6 separate regions of the Homo sapiens genome follow, and all the other regions are linked to region 4. The links are contacts of gene promoters, found by promoter capture Hi-C in blood cells and fetal thymus (Javierre and others, 2016). All regions are on one chromosome and are shown on one strand. Each heading gives the region's core, a stretch centred on a gene start or on the middle of the fragment in contact. The rest is flanking DNA. Distances are from core to core; before and after follow the strand shown.

The links. The method cuts DNA at HindIII sites, captures the fragments that hold promoters and counts their contacts. A CHiCAGO score of 5 or more calls a contact.
Region 1: a contact is called between a fragment that was not itself captured here and the fragment with the promoter of RNASE4 in region 4, in 10 of 17 cell types (M0 macrophages, activated CD4 T cells, non-activated CD4 T cells and 7 more). The highest score is 7.8, in M0 macrophages.
Region 2: a fragment that was not itself captured here is called in contact with the fragment with the promoter of RNASE4 in region 4 in 1 of 17 cell types (M0 macrophages); the score reaches 5.2 in M0 macrophages.
Region 3: a contact is called between the fragment with the promoter of OSGEP here and the fragment with the promoter of RNASE4 in region 4, in 15 of 17 cell types (megakaryocytes, total CD8 T cells, naive CD4 T cells and 12 more). The highest score is 16.2, in megakaryocytes.
Region 5: the fragment with the promoter of RNASE3 here is called in contact with the fragment with the promoter of RNASE4 in region 4 in 10 of 17 cell types (neutrophils, megakaryocytes, erythroblasts and 7 more); the score reaches 15.8 in neutrophils.
Region 6: a contact is called between a fragment that was not itself captured here and the fragment with the promoter of RNASE4 in region 4, in 16 of 17 cell types (total CD8 T cells, activated CD4 T cells, fetal thymus and 13 more). The highest score is 15.0, in total CD8 T cells.

The regions. Positions count from the first base shown.
Region 1 is chr14:20,492,141-20,495,177 of GRCh38, forward strand. No RefSeq gene overlaps it. Among named protein-coding and RNA genes, the nearest start is that of RNASE10, 12 kb to the right of the region's middle. The HindIII fragment of the contact is 1,819 bases long and covers 866-2,684 here.
Region 2 is chr14:20,549,787-20,553,258 of GRCh38, forward strand. No RefSeq gene overlaps it. Among named protein-coding and RNA genes, the nearest start is that of RNASE9, 9.5 kb to the right of the region's middle. The HindIII fragment of the contact is 3,221 bases long and covers 129-3,349 here.
Region 3 is chr14:20,453,550-20,456,974 of GRCh38, forward strand. OSGEP (O-sialoglycoprotein endopeptidase) reads right to left here and starts at 1,263. Exons shown (of 11, transcript NM_017807.4): 1 at 1,020-1,263. The coding sequence starts at 1,134. It overlaps APEX1 (apurinic/apyrimidinic endodeoxyribonuclease 1), which reads left to right and starts at 1,677. Exons shown (of 5, transcript NM_001641.4): 1 at 1,677-1,845; 2 at 2,029-2,154; 3 at 2,365-2,552; 4 at 3,119-3,311. The coding sequence starts at 2,097. RefSeq lists promoters at 1,176-1,620, 1,250-1,787, 1,452-1,786, enhancers at 1,211-1,300, 1,721-1,940 and cis regulatory regions at 1,247-1,577, 1,508-1,663, 1,534-1,575, 1,572-1,577, 1,588-1,620 and 2 more. The HindIII fragment of the contact is 3,687 bases long and covers 1-1,782 here.
Region 4 is chr14:20,683,198-20,686,201 of GRCh38, forward strand. RNASE4 (ribonuclease A family member 4) reads left to right here and starts at 1,363. Exons shown (of 2, transcript NM_002937.5): 1 at 1,363-1,561. TRY-GTA5-5 (tRNA-Tyr (anticodon GTA) 5-5) reads left to right here and starts at 76; the gene lies at 76-164. It overlaps TRP-TGG3-2 (tRNA-Pro (anticodon TGG) 3-2), which reads left to right and starts at 819; the gene lies at 819-890. It also overlaps a transcript of ANG not described here. RefSeq lists enhancers at 1-54, 255-444, 585-714, 1,515-1,654 and silencers at 845-894, 1,165-1,284. The HindIII fragment of the contact is 4,966 bases long and covers 1-1,883 here.
Region 5 is chr14:20,889,640-20,892,891 of GRCh38, forward strand. It overlaps RNASE3 (ribonuclease A family member 3), which reads left to right and starts at 1,746. Exons shown (of 2, transcript NM_002935.3): 1 at 1,746-1,812; 2 at 2,043-2,709. The coding sequence starts at 2,048. The coding sequence ends at 2,530. All of the region lies in intron 1 of LOC100507513 (a long non-coding RNA gene), which reads right to left. The HindIII fragment of the contact is 4,045 bases long and covers 1,712-3,252 here.
Region 6 is chr14:20,470,898-20,473,984 of GRCh38, forward strand. It overlaps PNP (purine nucleoside phosphorylase), which reads left to right. Exons shown (of 6, transcript NM_000270.4): 2 at 1,411-1,580. Among named protein-coding and RNA genes, the nearest start is that of PNP, 3.0 kb to the left of the region's middle. The HindIII fragment of the contact is 1,587 bases long and covers 593-2,179 here.

The DNA of each region.
Region 1 (3,037 bases), core at 525-3,024, 190 kb before region 4:
TTACATCAGGTCAAATCAGCATTTGGTAAATAGTAGTCACCATTTGTAGAATTAAACCATCCAAACTTCTAATCTATCACCTAGGGCTAAGGACTCACACACTTCAGCTCTGGGGACCAAAATGCTGGCTTCAGGAAGCATAATGATTTTAGCCTCGATACAGTGATGGCATAATCAATCAAGTTGTATCCTGCCTCTTTTCTCTCACCTAAATTTGATTTGTGTGATTATTTATTGCAGACAGTTTTGCAAGCTGACTTTAATCCTATCTTGGAATGAGGTGGAGTATAAAAGAATACAAATCAACAAACATGCTAATGTATTTTAAGAAGGAGATAGGAGAGTTTGGAAATTGGAAAGGGAAATTCTAAATTTTGAGAATTGCTTTCTACTAAACCATCATTGTCCAGGAGTAACACACTAGCTCACTTCTTAATTTCAAGTCAGAAACATTTTCCCAAGCTTATCCTGGCCCGAAGGAACTGTGACGCTGCTGACCACTGATGCTCACCAAGCAATCATCTCTTTGAGGTTTGGTCTCCCACTTGAGTCAGGGAGAGAATGTATGGGGCAGGTTTATTTTCACTGCACATATTTTTCAATGTAGATCTTGTTCATAGTTTTAACTGGGGATTGGTTGGTGTGAGTAACTCGCATGAAACTGAAAAATGCGCTGGACACAGTGGTTCATGCCTGTAATCCCAGCACTTTGGGAGGCTGAGGCAGGCAGATCACCTGAGGTCAGGAGTTCAAGATGACCCTGGCCAAAATGGTGAAACCCCATGTCTACTAAAAATACAAAAATTAGCCAGGTGTGGTGGCGGGTGCCTGTAATCCCAGCTACTTGGGAGGCTGAGGCAGGAGAAGCTTGAACTCGGGAGGTGGTGGTTGCAGTGAGCCGAGATCACGCCACTGCACTCCAGCCTGGGCGACAAGAGTGAGACTCCATCTCAAAAAAAAAGAAACTGAAAAACTCAGATAAGATCAAGTTTGCACCTGTAAGTTGTGGATAGGATCCAATGTATCTTGGATAATTGTGCAGCCTCCACCTCCTGAAACCCTTTCTGGGTGTCCATCTGGTTTTTTTGGACATGGTCCCCCAGATACATTTGCTAAGTTACAACTATATCTTAACAAATATTTATAGGGACCTATGGGGGCTGGGAATAATAAAAAGGGTCTAATAGGTTGGGCAACCCCATCTCTACATCTCTACAAAAAATTAAAACATTAGCTGGATATGGTGGTGCCCACCTGTACTCCCAGCTACCTGGGAAGGAATTTTTAAAATTTTATTTAAAAAAAGGAAAGAAAAAAGAACCCATGATGATCAAAAGATTAGAAGCTACCAGTTTAGCTGGTACATCTTCTTCAGACTTTAGTGGTTTTGTCATTTGGATTGAACGCAGTTCCCACTGAAACTTATTTGGCCACTATCTGAAGTTGAAATATCACACAGTGACAATTGTTTGAAAATTTCAGCTCCCCTTCTCCTGCCTCCTCTTCATCTCTAAGTATTTTCACTCCCATCTACTCATGGCAGTATCTGGCCACTGCCCATTCTCAGACCAGAAAGGGATCAGGAAAAGGCCAGTGTGTGGGGTGAGGCTGACTTCCAACAGTTGAGCTAGTACAGAGCCACTGAGCATTTCCCTCCCTAGGGCTCACTCTTCCTCAAAACTGCTAGTGTCTTGCAGATCCTCTCTCAAAACAAAAGAGGAAGTCAGAGGTGGAGCAGGGAGTGGTTTGAACTACTGGTTTTACTGGAAAAGGATTCCTGTTCCAAACCTCAAGAGCAAGTTCTTCGATCTTGAGCAGGAAAGAATTAAGGACAGGGCGCAGAGTACAGTATAGTTAAAACAGTTCATTAGAAACTACTCTATTACAGAGTAGGGCATCCTCAGAGAGCAAGAGGAGGAATGCCCCTACTTTAAATGTAATGCTTGCTTATACAGGATATTAAGGTTAAGAATAGTTTACTTTGGGAGTCCGAGGTGGGTGGATCACGAGGTCAGGAGATCAAGACCATCCTGGCTAACACGGTGAAACCCCATCTCCACTAAAAATACAAAAAATTAGCCGGGCATGGTGGTGGGCACCTGTAGTCCCAGCTACTCGGGAGGCTAAGGCAGGAGAATGGCATGAATCCGGGTGGCGGAGCTTGCAGTGAACCGAGATTGCGCCACTGCACTTCAGTCTGGGCAACAGAGCCAGACTCCATCTCAAAAAAAAAAAAAAAAAAAAAAAAAAGAATAGTTTACTTTATTATAAAGGCTTGTGATCAAGTTGTGACAGGCTATTAGTATTGTTATTCTCCGGTGTAACTATTGATTTCAGCAATAATTTATGAGTGTAGTATTATCTTTAAAGTGAAACCCATGTTTATTTTTATGTGTTTATTTGCTTACACCTTCACCACCACAAGAAACCCTCCCACCCACCTTTTTTTTTAAGACAGAATTTCACTCTTGTCGCCCAGGCTGGAGTGCAGTGGTGCGATCTTGGCTCACTGTAGCCTCCACCTCCTTGACTCGATCCTCTTTGATCCTCTGGATTCTCTCACCTCAGTCTCCATGCCCAGCTAATTTTTATTTTTATTTTTTTATAGAGATAGGATTCTACCATGTTGCCTGTCACGTGTGTCCGTGTGAAGAGACCACCAACGGGCTTTGTGTGAGCAATAAAGCTTTTTAATTACCTGGGTGCAGGCGGACTGAGTCCAAAAAAGGAGTCAGCAAAGGGAGATGGGGTGGGGCTGTTTTATAGGATTTGGGTAGGTAGTGGAAAATTACAGTCAAAGGGGATTGTTCTCTGGCGGGCAGGGGTGGGGGTCACAAGGTGCTCAGTAGGGGAGCTTCTGAGCCAGGAGAAGGAATTTCACAAGGTAATGTCATCAGTTAAGGAAGGAATCGACTGTTTTCACTTCTTTTGTGATTCTTCAGTTGCTTCAGGCCATCCGGATACTTACACGTGCAAGCTTGGGCTCAGACGCCTGACATTGCCCATGGCTGGTTTGAACTCCTGAGATCAAGCAATC
Region 2 (3,472 bases), core at 489-2,988, 130 kb before region 4:
TTTCTACATCTTAATTACTACAAGCTACAGGACCAGTAGTCTCAGATCTTCACTTACTTGTTGAACTTCTTTCACTAGAAACTTCTCCAAATGCTGGGGTCAAAATTTCAAAAAATGAGTCGCTAATAAGCTTTCAATGTCCATTTTTCTAAAGATGCAACCTATATCTTAAATTGGAGTAGATTATGGCAACTATTAAGTCTTCAATGCCCCACCAAAAATTAACAAGTGGGCATGCATGCTATTGGAACACAGGCCTAGGACTTTCTTTCTCCCTCTGCCCTCCCCTGTGACCTCCACATTCTCCGTACAGAAAGGGGCAGGAGGTATGAAAGGGCAGACATTGGGTAACACTCACTATTGCCTTAGTTCCCAGGTACTAGCAGTGCCCCTTTACTGACCTTACTCTTCTTCCTGTTGTAAACACCTCCTTAGAGTTCTTTTCATGTCCAACCCTTGGTCATCTTCCATCCTGCCTCTCAAGCAGGGTAAAATCCCTCATTCTCTTACTCTTATTTTCTCCTGAAATTCCTCCCTTTCATATTCTTAATGTTCCCTCCTCCTTAGAAGCCCACTCTCTATTTTGATGTTTGCTGCACAGGTTCCTAGACCAATATGGAAAATCCAAAAATGTGCTGCTCTCCCCTTTGTTGATCTCTCACCTGAACAATGAACACAGTGCATGCTGTGGAATATGGGTAAAAAATTAGTTCATCAAAATGTTTATATAATTGAAAATTCTGTATTATATGTAATGTATTTGTTCATTTAAAAATACTTATTGAATATTAAGTGGCAGGCATTAGGCATTGAGGATAGAAAAGAATGAGAGAATGCTTGAAATACTATGCATTTCGTTATGGAAATACTAGGGCATTATTACACTAGGGTGTATATTGAAGTGGTGAGTTGCTTGTACCCACTTGTAATGAACATATTTTAAAAAGAGAAGGAAGAAAATCTTTGACAATGGAATAATGTCAAATATTTGAATATTTTGAATTAAGTAAGGCAGCACATTTGTGTATATACCCATCACTGCGAATGTTCTTGTTCACTTGAAGTTATAATCTAGTAGCTGGAAAACATGTCAGTGTCATCATTCTATCTTATGGGAAATGCCCCTGAATTCAAAATCTCACTTGGTTAAAGACTAATTTACCTTCAGTTTGATAGGACTCGAAGCACGCTCCAAAGGCTCCAGGTATCTCCTTTGATCTTTCAAGAAGAACTTGATATTGATGACTAGCTCTTGTAATCTTTCAACTATGGAAACTTAGGTGGAATATTTCTTCTTGTATTCAATGCAAATTATGCAATGAATGCATCAGATGTGATGAGGAAGGGATGAGCCACTGCTTCCTTGTGTTTCTAAAAATATGACAGTTCACAAATGTCATGATCTTATGTCAGAGACATGTGAGAAAGATCCATCTTAGAGAAAGAGAAGAAAGATTGGGATAAAATATGTGATTTCATTTTTTAATCCTTATTTGTTGTGTGACAGGAAAAATAGGAAACAGTGGACAGAGAATATGATCCCCTTACTTGTGACACAAGAGGTAATGATGAACAGTGAAAGGGTATATAAAAACACTTCGAAAATTTTATATTATAGAGAAGATACTGTGTGAGGTATTGTGACTGCTACAATATATACATATATATATATATGAATAAAAGTTATTGGCTCTGAATTTATCAGGAATATTAATTCAACTTTGTACCAAAATATTACAGGGCAAATGAATAGGGTTCAATTTAGCATCACCAATTTTCAAGGAGCAGCACAGGGATAGTTAGTAGCTTTGGTTTTATTCTTTTCCTAATGTCATCTAAGAATATCGTGCTAGAATAGAAAGGTGTGAATGGTTAAATTAGGTGTCAGCTTGATTGGGTTGAAGGATGCCTAGATGGCTGGTGAAGCACTGTTCCTGGGGGTGTCTGTGGGGGTGTTTCCAGAGGAGATTGGCAGGTGAGGCAGTTTCCAGAGGAGACTGGCAGGTGAGACTGAGAGAGGAAGACCTGCCCTCAATGTGGGCAGGCACCATTCAATTGACTGCTTGCTCCCCACAACCTTCCCACCCTGTGGCAGCTCTGAGGCCTTCAGCCTCAGACCAGCTTCTCTAACAACCTTGCTTGCTACCAGCTTCTGTCATTCTCTAGCTTGCATATGGCCTGTCGGCCTATTGTGGGACTTCGCTTTTAATCATGTGAGCCAATTCTCCCTAAAAAATTCCCTTACGTATACCTATCCTATTGATGCTGTTCCCCTGGAGAATCCTGTCAACTAAAGAAAAAAAAGATCCAACTTTTAAATAATTAAAATTAGTTTTATTCAGAAGTCTTACTGAGGTCTACAGGCTGGGAGGCCTATAGCCCAGGAGCAGCCCTTTAGAGGGGTTCTATTAGATGGCTCCCATGCAGTATTTTAGTTGACAATTTACAGGTGGTAAAGATTCAGTATATGTGAAATCACATCAAATTTGCTCAGAAGTTACATTAAAGCAGAATCACATCAAGGTTTGGGTGTAAGAGTACATCTGGTTATAGATTACAGGAGTATAATCACTAACCTGGTCAGACCTTATTTTATGCGTAAGAAAACGCAAGGACTGGTGTAATTTATCTTTAGGAATATAGTGAGTCAGGTAAACAGACACGGAGCATGGGGACCGTGCACTCTATTCTGTGGTATCTTCAAACATTCTTCTCAAAGAGCTGCAGGTTGTCATAGAGTGAGGGGCTTTGTGAAATTATGCTGGCAAGCAGAAATGAGCAAAAATGGCATTTACTACTTTGTCTCGCAACTTCCACTAACACAAAGGGACGGGAGCAACTGTGCTGTCTGTTCATTGGGCTAGACTTTTCTCCTATTTACTTAATCAATAACATCATAGACATCAGAAATTTTCAAAGAGAATACCAATTGGGTTTATTCTGGTTAGGAAACAAAATGCTGTGTTTATAGTTTTTCTTACTCTTGGGAATGCTTTGCCTACATTCTTTCACTGAGTAAGTATAATTTAAAGTTAGTGTTGCATCGCCACTTCATATCCATTGAAATTGCTATTAGATATTAAAAAAAGAAGTATTGATGAGGGTTTTGAGAAACTGGAACCCTAGTGCACTACTGATTGGAATGTAAAATGGTTCAGCCACTGTGGAAAACAGTATAGTAGTTTCTTAAAAAAAAAAAAAAAGAATTACCATATGATCCAGCAATTCCACTTATGCGTATATACACCAAAAAAAAAAAAAAAATGGGAAACAAGGACTCAAACAGATATTTGTTTGTCAATGTTCATAGCAACATCATTTACAGTAGCCAAATGGTGAAAACAACCAAAGCTTCCTCAATGGATGAATGGATAAACAAAATGTGTTATATACATACAATGGAATATTATTGAGCCTTCAAAAAGGAGAAAATTATGACACATGAGTAAAACTTGGAGACATCAGGCCAAGT
Region 3 (3,425 bases), core at 13-2,512, 230 kb before region 4:
GTGGAAACATGGTTTCTCCATGTTGGTCAGGCTGGTCTCGAACCCCGACCTCAGGTGATCTGCCTGCCTTGGCCTCCCAAAGTGCTGGGATTACAGGCGTGAGCCACCACGCCCAGCCGTGTTTGGTACTTTCATCTAATCTTCAAGACCTAATGATACAGGTATTATTCCCATTTTAAAAACAAAGACCAGGCCCGAGCGGTGGCTCATGCCTGTAATTTCCACACTTTGGGAGGCTGGGGTGGGCGGATCATCTGAGGTCAGGAGTTCGAGACCAGCTTGGCCTGGTGGAAACCCCGACTCTACTAAAAATACAAAATTTAGCTGGATGTGGTGGCGCACACCTATAGTCCTAGCTACTTGGGAGGCTGGGGTAGAAGAATCGCTTGAACCTGGAAGGCAGAGATTGCAGTGAGCCGAGATCGTGCCACTGCATTCCAGCCTGGGCGACAGAGCAAGACTCTGTCTCAAAAAAATAAAATAAAATAAAAAATAAAGACCAAATGTCCAAAACAAAAATATTTAATATGAATATAGCAAAGCCAGCCAGTTCTGTCTGACATGTAAGCCGGGAGTCTTTCCACTCTCATCTCTCTACTCATCCTAGAATATTTCAAAAAATAATTTTTTTTTAAAAAGGGAGTGTATATTCAGGGCAACTGGAATCTATACTCCTGCTAAGCGTTTTTTAAACAGAATATTTCGAGTCCATCTCTATTATACTGTTTATCATGCTGTAGTATAAACATCTATTTATATGTCTGACTCCACAGCAGTATAACATCTATTTCTGAATACTTAGCACATAAAATGCGCTCAGTAAAAGGTAAATGAACTCATCAGATCCACGTCCAAGTGCCTGTAACTCTTCTAGTCATCAGCCTTGTGACGTTAATAATGTCACATAATTTCAATGAGACTCGGATCGAAAGCTGCACCTCACTAGTATTTAGGAAGATGGAAGGCTGATTCTGTGCGGGGAAGTGCGCGGAAAACTCTTAAGTCCCCTACTCACCAACCTGTGCCAGGAGGCGTGACGTAAGTCCGCCGCGGGTTCGCCAGCACCTTGCCATCCCGCACCACGCCCACGCCAATCTTATTGGCGCTGCCTTCAAAACCCAGCACCGCCGGCATGGCGGAGGCTGGGAGAAAACGCCGACAGGACTCCTGGCAATGTCAGGAGCTGTGGAGGTCCTCACTAGTCCGCGCTGGGCCGCAGCTTTCCGGAGCGCAGAGGAAGCTGGCCAGCCTGCAGATAGCACTGGGAAAGACACCGCGGAACTCCCGCGAGCGGAGACCCGCCAAGGCCCCTCCAGGGACCTGTCTTCCTAACTGCCAGGGACGCCGAGCCAACTCTGTGCCTTACATTCGTATCCGTTTTCCTATCTCTTTCCCGTGGTCCAGCCCAGCCTTCTCCACTGTTTTTTTCCCTCTTGCACATAGTTAGAATCTTAAGTCAGTGTCACACAATGTGCTGTGCATCTGGCACAACGATAAACAGCCCGAGGGAGGGTTGGGGACCTAAGTGTCCTAGAGAATTAGAGGAGGGAGGCGAGGCTAAGCGTCTCCGTCACGTGGTGTCAGACAGACCAATCACGCGCATTCTTCGGCCACGACAAGCGCGCCTCTGATCACGTGACCAGGTCCGCTACCCACGTGGGGGCTCAGCGTGCACCCTTCTTTGTGCTCGGGTTAGGAGGAGCTAGGCTGCCATCGGGCCGGTGCAGATACGGGGTTGCTCTTTTGCTCATAAGAGGGGCTTCGCTGGCAGTCTGAACGGCAAGCTTGAGTCAGGACCCTTAATTAAGATCCTCAATTGGCTGGAGGGCAGATCTCGCGAGTAGGGTACAAGGCACTATGAAATGATCTAGTTTCGTGGGTGAGGGGCTGAAGGGCCTATGATGCACGGAGGCGGGGAAAGGATTTAGAGATAACGTGGTTTGAAAGGCGGGACCTGGTGCGGGGACGCTCTTGGGAGGAGTCTTCTCCCCAGCCTTAGCTGGTTTCATGATTTCTTTGCGTCTGTAGGCAACGCGGTAAAAATATTGCTTCGGTGGGTGACGCGGTACAGCTGCCCAAGGGCGTTCGTAACGGGAATGCCGAAGCGTGGGAAAAAGGGAGCGGTGGCGGAAGACGGGGATGAGCTCAGGACAGGTAAGGGAATGAAATCAGCCCTTCTTCCTAGAAGCTGCGGCGGGGGTGTTTGTCATTCCCTTGATGTACGGTAAGTACGGGCCGACTCATTTTTGCAGGGGTTTGTGAAGAAGTCGCAGGAACCGTAGGCTTTCGTTGGGTCTATAGTTAACGCCGGATCGCAGTTGGAAACCACCAGCTTTTTGTCAGTATATATTACTCATTTTATAGAGCCAGAGGCCAAGAAGAGTAAGACGGCCGCAAAGAAAAATGACAAAGAGGCAGCAGGAGAGGGCCCAGCCCTGTATGAGGACCCCCCAGATCAGAAAACCTCACCCAGTGGCAAACCTGCCACACTCAAGATCTGCTCTTGGAATGTGGATGGGCTTCGAGCCTGGATTAAGAAGAAAGGATTAGATGTGAGTGGAATTTGAGGGAAAGAGACATTTTTTAGTATTGAATGGTCTTAGGGTTTAGTCACCCCTTTTCTCCGTTTAGCCTTCAGGCTGTTTTATTTTTCTCCTGCCCGTAGTTTTCTGTGGGGCTTCCCCAGTCTTGCCAGTTGTATTTCCTAAATGTCTGTTCCTTCACTTCCATTGCCATTTTCTTTTTTAGTGTTCTCTCCTCTTCCCAGAATGTTGCAAAAACCTCTTCACTATACTTCCTCCATTTTATCTTCCTGCATTGCATTCCATATGAAGCATGTCCTCCATTCCATTAACCATAGCTTAAAAATCTTAGCTTGCTATCCACTGCCTATAGAAAAAACACATCTCCTTGGCATAGCATGTAAGACTTTCTTACCTCTCTATATTTGTTTTCATTTATCTAGCTTAGAATTGTTTGAATATTGTGCTGCTTGACTCGAACTCCTTAGGCCAAGAGACTGTTTAACCCGTGCGTATCTATGACTTAGCATATAGATTATTCAATAAATGTTCTGCTGAATTGATAATACGTTTTCCACCTTTCTTTTCACTTACAGTGGGTAAAGGAAGAAGCCCCAGATATACTGTGCCTTCAAGAGACCAAATGTTCAGAGAACAAACTACCAGCTGAACTTCAGGAGCTGCCTGGACTCTCTCATCAATACTGGTCAGCTCCTTCGGACAAGGAAGGGTACAGTGGCGTGGGCCTGCTTTCCCGCCAGTGCCCACTCAAAGTTTCTTACGGCATAGGTGAGACCCTATTGATGCCTAATGCCTGAACTCTTCAAAACCAATTGCTAATTCTCTATCTCTGCCCCACCTCTTGATTGCTTTCCCTTTTCTTATAGTTTTTTATGCTAATTC
Region 4 (3,004 bases), core at 113-2,612:
AGAGATTTCTTTCTTTCCCGTCTCTGGTTAAGGATGTCTCGAGTAGGGATTTTTAGGAGAGTTGTTTCCGTGCTTCCTTCGATAGCTCAGCTGGTAGAGCGGAGGACTGTAGTACTTAATGTGTGGTCATCCTTAGGTCGCTGGTTCGATTCCGGCTCGAAGGAGACGCTGCTGTTTTGGGGTTTACGGTTGCTCTTCGTTTGTGCAAAAAATCTCTGTATCTTGACGTGATCAAATCTGTTTCTGTCTCTCACCCTTGTCCGAAGGAAACAGCTTAGCCGCGAGGTGGGCTGCGTTAATCGCGTCTTGAAAAGTTGGTTACCTTTCTGAAAGATAGTAGACCCGAATCGTCCCACCGTTGGGGGAAGGCACTGTTGTCTTACCGAAGTGTGTTATATTTTGGCTTCTACGTTAAGTCCAAAGGCCGGCAGATATATACGTATCGCGCGTCTGTCCTGGGGCTCAGTACCCTACAGCCTTGCAACCGAGCTCAGCTCTGGCCCTCGATCTCTATTTCAGCCCCCTCCAGGTTCCCTCCAGGCCCTAGCGGGCTTAAATCGCTCCCCGGGCTCAGTGAGACACAAGCATGTGACCTAAAGTCTAAAAAGCTGCCTTCCTTCACCCCATCCTGCATCTGGATCGAGGAGAATAAGCCAGAGAATAAGCCACACTTGAAACTTGGTGAAGATGGAAGGAATAACTAAATAAGGCCTAAGGGAAATGTCACAACAGAGGAAAAGAAACAAAACAAAAAACCTTCAGAACAGCAGGCGGAAAAGAGAAATTCAGAGTGATAGGAAGCACCACTCAGCTACAGTGGCTCGTTGGTCTAGGGGTATGATTCTCGCTTTGGGTGCGAGAGGTCCCGGGTTCAAATCCCGGACGAGCCCTCGTGGCTACTGTTTTTCCACCCCCTTTTGTCAACTACTGAAAAAAAGTCTCCGTTAAATTTGAAACACAAACTGTCTCGCGATGGGCTGTCCTGCCAAAGAAAGCAGCAGCGAATAAGTACGTGGCAGATGGTGCTGTCGACCAGTGTCAAGACCAAGTTTCATGGGTTCCTGGACGCTCAGCCAGGGGTAGTCTCTGAAGGGCCGCCTGGCAATTGGGAGCAGAAGCCAGTTTCCCGCCATCTGCTCTCCGTGGAGGCAGTGCTCTCGCGGCTGCTGCCCGTTGGGGTCCAGCTGAGGAAGGAGCGCGGATCCCAGGCTCGTTCTTTGCCTGGGCTGCCCCTGCGGCCCCTGGGGCGGGTGCTGCTGCGGCGCCAGCTCCAAGGGCGGATCCAGGCGGGAGGGGCCTCCTCGGAGAAGCGGGGCGCGGTCCCAACTACGCAGAGGCTGGCACGCCGACCCTCCACACCTCACCACGCCCCCATCTCCGTCCGTGTACACACACTCACACAAGGACGCCAACCCCACCTAGATGCAAAGCAGGATTCAAAAGAACATCTTTGCGTTTTCTACCGGCTCCCCATCATCGTACTAGGGAGGAAGAAGCGGGTGAGAAACAAAACTTCTTTCCATTGTCCTGCCCGTTTCTGCGGACTTGTTCTGAGGCCGAGGTAGGTTCACACTCCTGCTCCTCCTCCTCCTCTCTGGTAGCTTCATAAGGGGCGTTTAGGCCGGGGAGTCCTTTCCTAGTAGAGGCAGCTTGGGACTCCTTGGGGAGGAGTTTGCGGGACGGGGCTGGAGAGGGAGGAATGGGGAGGGACGTGAAAGTCCCGTATTTGTATGAGTTAACGACTTTACATTCCCACTCAGGTTTACTTTGCGCAGCTGGGCACAGATGCCAGCTTCTATTGATTAGTAGGCTTGGAGGGGGACCACAGAATCGCCGAACCTAAGGGAAGCCCTAGGAGGCCTGCACTTGCCCACAACTAAGAAAGCTTTGCTAGTTATTCAGGCTAATCACCAGCTTTTTGAAGCAGGCCTTAGTTTTTTGCAAGCGTAACTAACATTTGGGGATCGGTGTTTTCTGTTTACTCTCCTCTGCCTCCTCACCCTTAACCCACCCTCAGCCAGTGTTGTGCAATTCTTAGAGACACTTGCCAACAGCCTCTTCTCTAAGCCTTCCTACTGGAAGGTTGGGATCCTCCGTTTTCTCGCTCTGAGACAGCACGTCAAATGCTAATAGCAGCACATGAGTAAAGCGCAACATCTTTATTAAAACAATTTCAGCACCACTCAGGGGGCTAGGGAAATCTCAGATGAGCCAAGACCCTCCCTCGTGACAGTAAAAATCTTATAATCAAGTCATAATGTAATCAGTAGAAACCCAAGGGACATCATTATCTGTGGCACAGGACCACCTTCCCAGAAGCAGCCTCAGGTATTCAAGACTTACTTAACCACAGAGCCACTAACAAGTTTTGCAAGAGGATAGGTTTATTACATACGCTTCAATTCAAGCAATTCTTTTACTGATGACAAGCAGAGTAAAATAATTTTTGAATTTATGGTAATAGTCAATGTAGGTTTCCTTCGAACAGCAACTTTCAGTGGCCCCTTTAAAGTTAGCTCTGATTGTCTAGAAAGTACTAGTATGGAATATAAAAGTTGTGTGGGCCCGGCACGGTGGCTCATGCCTGTAATCCCAGCACTTTGGGAGGCCGAGGTGGGTGCATCACAAGATCAGGAGTTCGAGACCAGCCTGGCCAAGATGGTGAAACCTCGTCTCTACTAAAAATACAAAAATTAGCCGGGCACGGTGGTGAGCACCTGTAACCCCAGCTACTCGGGAGGCTGAGACAGGAGACTCTCTTGAACCTGGGAGGCGGAGGTTACAGTGAACAGAGATTGCGTCACTGCACTCTAGCCTGGGTGACAGAGCAAGACTCCGTCTTAAAAAAAAAAAAAAAAAAAATTGTGTGGTGCATTGGAAAGCTTCCAGGCCGGCGAATGCAATGAGTTCCTTGGGCAATACATGTCTCTTTCTCTGTTCCTCAGTTGGCTCTTCTTTAATATGAGGGGTGGACAGAGTCTCAGAGGCCCCTCCCACTCTTGTT
Region 5 (3,252 bases), core at 496-2,995, 210 kb after region 4:
TTAGTGAACTATTCCAATGTCAAACTTTATCTTCCAAACCAAACATCATAAATAGCACTGTGTATGCTGAAAAGAAGCACTGTTTAGCCAAGTACCTGCCCTGGGGCTGCAGTCTATGTCTTTTGCCTCATACTATAGACACTTAAGTGCAAATGTTTCTAGCCAGTGTGGCTGTCAGCATCACAGAGGGGATACTCTACGTATCATTCACCTTTACATTCTCATCACCTACAAAAATGATCTCCACACAATATACATGAAAAAATAAACTTGCCTCATGATAAAGCTGCTAATGAATGTCGGCCAGAACAGGACTTCAAGGCAGAGCAATATTAGCTGCGCATTGAGTCCTCACCAGGTCACCATTGTGTCCACATTTACCTAAGGACCCCAGTGATAAAATTATTGCATTTCTAAATGACAGGAAAATTGGACGGTAGTAAAAATTAGGCAGATTAACTGTTGGAAGGTATATTATATCATTTAAGGGTCTACTTTCCATTTTCTAATCTCAAAGCTAGACCAGATTTAACATCTGTTAGTACCCAGGCCTTACCTTTGCAATTCACTTCTCACCTCTGTACAATTTCCCCACATCATCCCCTGTGCCCAGAATGCTCATCTCTTCTCTAAATCCCCTGAAAATCCCCTGCTTATCCTTTAGGACCTGCTGAAATAAACTTTTTTTTGAAGTTTTCCTTATTTCTCAAGCCAAGTGATTTCCTTCACCAGCAGTGTCCCTATGACACCATGTTCACACAAATGCTATTACCTCTATCACACTGTAATACAATTATATGTCTACAAGTACTTTCCTGTGTTTCTCTGAGGGCCAAGAATAAATGTATGCTTTGTGTATCAAACTGTACACTTGACCTCTATACTTTCAGGAATACAGTGCTCTGTCCTTAAATGTTCATTTGTAAATACAGAACCATATTCTTGTTAATATCACAAAATGAAACTTACCAGGAAGATGAATGACAACCCCAGAACACACTGTTTTGTAGAAAATACCATAGGCTGAAAAGATCACAGGAATACCGAGTGCTAGGTTGGAATCTTTCATGACACCAAATGTTCATTCATCCTCTGCCAGATTTTACAACTGTCCTCGGTGTGTTTTTAGGTTATGTAACTTTACACAAAGTGGAATCAATAATCAGGGCAAGACTTAAGAGAAAGTGGATCCAATGCAAGAGGAGTAAAGAAAAAAATTCCTCAATTGTATGGAGCAGATTGTTTTAATTATCTACAGAATCTTGTGCCCCAAGAAATTAATAGCTCAAGTTTCCAGCAAGAGTGGTGGATGAGATGGAGAGCATTTATGTGAGAGAGAACCAAGGATATTACTAAAAATGGAAGGGAAGCTGGGTTTCTCCTGGGCAAACAGCCCTCTGTGGCTCTATTTCTCCTAACTACTATGCCTGCCTTCGTGTCATTTAGTCATTTAGGGGCCTGCCAGAGGACAGTTATAAAATCTGTGGTCATTCTGCCGGCAGCGTATAGTTTTCACCCAGAGTCCAGATCCCACCGGCAAAACTCTGTCTAACACAGGATGACTTGGAATTAGAGTCCGTATAGCAGAAAGAGCAGCAGGGCTGTCCTTGGGTATCCGTTGCTCAGCCAAGTCATCAAATAAAAAGGATGATTGCACAAGTGGACCATGTGTCAATCTGTGGGTTTCTGCATGGCCAGACCCACCAAGGGAAGCTTTATTTAAACAGTTCCAAGTAGGGGAGACCAGCTGCCCCTGAACCCCAGAACAACCAGCTGGATCAGTTCTCACAGGAGCCACAGCTCAGAGACTGGGTAAGTCAACAATCCCCAGAGCTGGGACAGGAGGGGCAGCGACAGGGCAGCACCTGAGGGAGAGGTGAGCTGAAGTTAGTGCTTAGGAGATGTGGCACACTTTGGGGACAGGAAGAAAAGGAAATGCGACCCCAGAGTGGCAGCAGAGGGGCCTGTGGGTTGAGACACTATAGAGTGTGTCATAACCGAGACCGGATCGGGGAGTAGTTACTTCTCTTCTTTTCTTACAGGAAACATGGTTCCAAAACTGTTCACTTCCCAAATTTGTCTGCTTCTTCTGTTGGGGCTTATGGGTGTGGAGGGCTCACTCCATGCCAGACCCCCACAGTTTACGAGGGCTCAGTGGTTTGCCATCCAGCACATCAGTCTGAACCCCCCTCGATGCACCATTGCAATGCGGGCAATTAACAATTATCGATGGCGTTGCAAAAACCAAAATACTTTTCTTCGTACAACTTTTGCTAATGTAGTTAATGTTTGTGGTAACCAAAGTATACGCTGCCCTCATAACAGAACTCTCAACAATTGTCATCGGAGTAGATTCCGGGTGCCTTTACTCCACTGTGACCTCATAAATCCAGGTGCACAGAATATTTCAAACTGCACGTATGCAGACAGACCAGGAAGGAGGTTCTATGTAGTTGCATGTGACAACAGAGATCCACGGGATTCTCCACGGTATCCTGTGGTTCCAGTTCACCTGGATACCACCATCTAAGCTCCTGTATCAGCAGTCCTCATCATCACTCATCTGCCAAGCTCCTCAATCATAGCCAAGATCCCATCCCTCCATGTACTCTGGGTATCAGCAACTGTCCTCATCAGTCTCCATACCCCTTCAGCTTTCCTGAGCTGAAGTCCCTTGTGAACCCTGCAATAAACTGCTTTGCAAATTCATCTGGAAGTGTCTGTGTGTCTTCCTCGGCCGCTCTGCTGTCATTTAGTGACAATCTGCTCTAGAGATTTGGGTTTATCATGAATCTCTCCCCCTCAATATCTGACCAAATTCCTTAATTCCCCCATCATCCTTCATGTGATACCTGATTCCAGGCCTGCCTTAAAAAAAAATCCAATTGAGTCAACTTAGCATTGGTCTCCCTAGCCTTAATATCTCCTCTAAGCAATTTTCCATCCACTGACTCCTCCCCCAACACCAACCTATAACTTGTGTATAGATCTCCACTTGTTTTAGTTGTATTCCAGAATTGAGCCCAATTTGATATTGAGGTCCCATTTGATGCTTTATGGTCCGACTATGGTTTTTATTGACATGATTTCTATCCCAAGAAAAAAAGAGCTGCAGTGAATCAGCTGAAAATGCACGTGCTTCATTATGATTTATGAATGATAAATTTTGATAGAATTGAACGTTATGATAGAAAATAGAAAAGAAGAAAGTAGAAAAAGTCAAGAATGCTATAAATAAGGTGAAACCAAGAT
Region 6 (3,087 bases), core at 136-2,635, 210 kb before region 4:
TTGTTTATACCTGAGAAAATAATTTAAAGCACAAATTACATGCCTAAAAAGACAATATTGGGACTAGAATCTAGGTCGAATTCTGCTTCCCTCCAGACCAGCAATTCCTAAACCTGGTTTTATTTTATTTTATTTTTATTTATTTATTTTGGAGTCGGAGTCTCGCTCTGTCTCCCAGGCTGGAGTTCAGTGGAGCGATCTTGGCTCACTGCAACCTCTGCCTCCCGGGTTCACACCATTCTACTGCCTCAGCCTCCCGTGTAGCTAGGACTACAGGGGCCCGCCACCACGCCCGGCTAATTTTTTTTTTTTTTTTTTTTTTTTTGTATTTTTAGTAGAGACGGGGTTTCAACATGTTAGCCAGGATGGTCTCGATCTCCTGACCTCGTGATCCGCCCACCTCGGCCTCCCAAAGTGCTGGGGTTACAGGCATGAGCCACCGCGCCCAGCCCCTAAACCTGGTTTTAAAATCAAAATTACATGGGCTTCAGAATCTGTTTTTTGTGGGGGTTTTGTGTGTGTGTGTGTGTGTGTTTTTTATAGGGTCTCACTCTGTCACCAGGCTGGAGTGCCAGAATCTGTTTTTCTAACAAGCTTCTGCTGAGAATTTGTGTAGTCAGTCCTGGTTTAACCTTTGACAACCAGTACTGTGGACTGGGTCTGCTTTTTTGTACAGCAGTTTATCTAGTTTTTTGTCTGGAATTAACCCCCTTGTGATCCAGGGAGCTAAGAATGGCACGTAGACCTCTACCAGGGGTGGTCCCATTGTGTTTTATTGGTTAAAACAAAAAAGAAATGTAGCCCTTAAGTCTTTGGCTGAGGAAGGAACTGGAGGAATGAGGGTTCAAAAGGAAATTTGAGTTTATCTCTGCCTTCATAGTAGTTGGTCTTAATTACATTTTGAATGTCTTTGGGGAACAGGTAAGGTAATAAGGGGGATTTTACTAGGTGGGCACCACCCTCAGGAAGGGCTTAATCCCATTTTGAGTACTCTTCTTGGGCTCCCTCCTGGCCAAGCCCTTTTACCCTCCCTAATTTGATTATTTCCTTGCACTTCCCCGTACACTCTGGCCCCTTCCTCTCTAAACCTTTGTCATAAGGATAAGTATGCAGCTTGCCAGTGTTCAGTGGATCCAACACTGGAGTTGGGCCTGTTAGTAGAAACAGGCTTTATTAACTTTTGCCAGGCTCTAGAATGGAGGTAGTTTCATATCAGACTTGTAGTGGGCTTGATTCAGAAAGAAGGGTGGCTGAGTAGATGGAAGAGCATAGTATGGCCTTTCCCTCTGTGCCAGCTTCTCCGTCCCTGCTGCCTCAGTATACCTGCCAGCCTTTTTGCACCGAAGGTCATTTGTCTGTGATGCCCTTGGAATGGGAGCAGAATTCACCTTGATATTTTTTCTCCCCCAGATACACCTATGAAGATTATAAGAACACTGCAGAATGGCTTCTGTCTCACACTAAGCACCGACCTCAAGTTGCAATAATCTGTGGTTCTGGATTAGGAGGTCTGACTGATAAATTAACTCAGGCCCAGATCTTTGACTACGGTGAAATCCCCAACTTTCCCCGAAGTACAGGTACTGGCAAGGGAAAGTGGGGAATGGGACTGAGGGATGTTCTTGGAATTCTGTGGAACACAACCAAGGAGGCCAATGTTTCTACTCCTTGACCTAGCATTTCACTGAAGACAAATGTTGTAAGAGAGGAGAAAAGCCCACCATGAGTCAGAGTGACTTTAGGAGATGCCTCTAGCAGACATCCCATAAGAGACAGGACATGTGTGTGTCAGTGGACTGAGGCTAAGACTCAGAAGAGGGCCAGGTGACAGGGGCCAAGTAAAGGGCAAGGGTTGTTTATTTGGTTTACGTAATTTCTCAAATAACTAACTTCTGTTGGTTTATTTATTAATTTTTAAGATTTCTATCTTCTTTTCCCTGGAGAGTTAAGAATTTTTTTTTAAGACCTGTCAGCAGGAAAAGACCTTTAATAGCTATTTTTTTAAACTCTTTAACACAAGACTGGAAGAGCAGAGGGAGAAGGTGAGGGAAATATTAACAGAGGGTGTGTGAAGGGCATACTTCTCTAAGGGAGATAGTAGTGACGCTGGCTCCACTGGCCACTCCTACCCCCAGTGAGAAGGGCACTGCATTAAATGATAAGTGGGTTAGTTTTTTTAAGCTTATCAACATGTTTATTTTTTATACTCCACTTGGGTTTCCTTTGTCAACTTTATTACTGTTTTTGTTTTGTTTTTTTGCATAAGCTCCTCTATCTTTGAGAATTTCTCAGCTCTTCCTCTTGGTTCTAGTCCCTCTCCCATTCCCTAAGGGATAGGTTGGCCGTCTATTAGAAGTGACTGCCAGATAAAAGAAATGGTAATAATGGCTGTTATGTCTGTGGGGAGTTATCTTTGCACTCCCACGCACCCCTCCGTGGGCATGTGTTCCCATAGGACTGTTCCGTGGGTCATAAGGAAAGAGACACTTGCATGCGTTCAAATTCTTTCCCCCTTGTTCAGTAGCCTCTTCTTTAAGAAGCCAGAGTAAGTATACTATGAGCTTGCTTGCTGGACTGAGGAGGCAGGTAATTAAGTTAGGGCAATAGATAAGAATACATGTTTTGAGAACTTTGAAAAATTTGAAGAGGTCTATAATTACTGCATTCACTGTACTCACTTTATTTTGAAACAGAGTCTCGCTCTGTCACCCAGGCTCGAGTGTAGTGTTGTGATCTCGGCTCACTGCAACCTCCACCTCCCAAGTTCAAGAGATTCTCCCACCTCAGCCTCCCGAGTAGCTGGGATTACAGGCATGTGCCACCACACCTGGCTAATTTTTGTATTTTTAGTAGAGATGAGGTTTCACCATGTTGGCCAGGGTGGTCTTGAACTCCTGGCCTGTTGATCCGCCTGTCTTGGGCTCCCGAAGTGCTGGGACTACAGGTGTGAGACACCGCACCTGGCCTATTTTTAATTTTAATTTTTATAGATTTACAGGGGTACAATGCAGTTTTGTTATATGGATATACTGCGTGGTGGTGACGTCTGTGCTTTAGTGTAACCATCACCTGAGCAGTGAACATTGT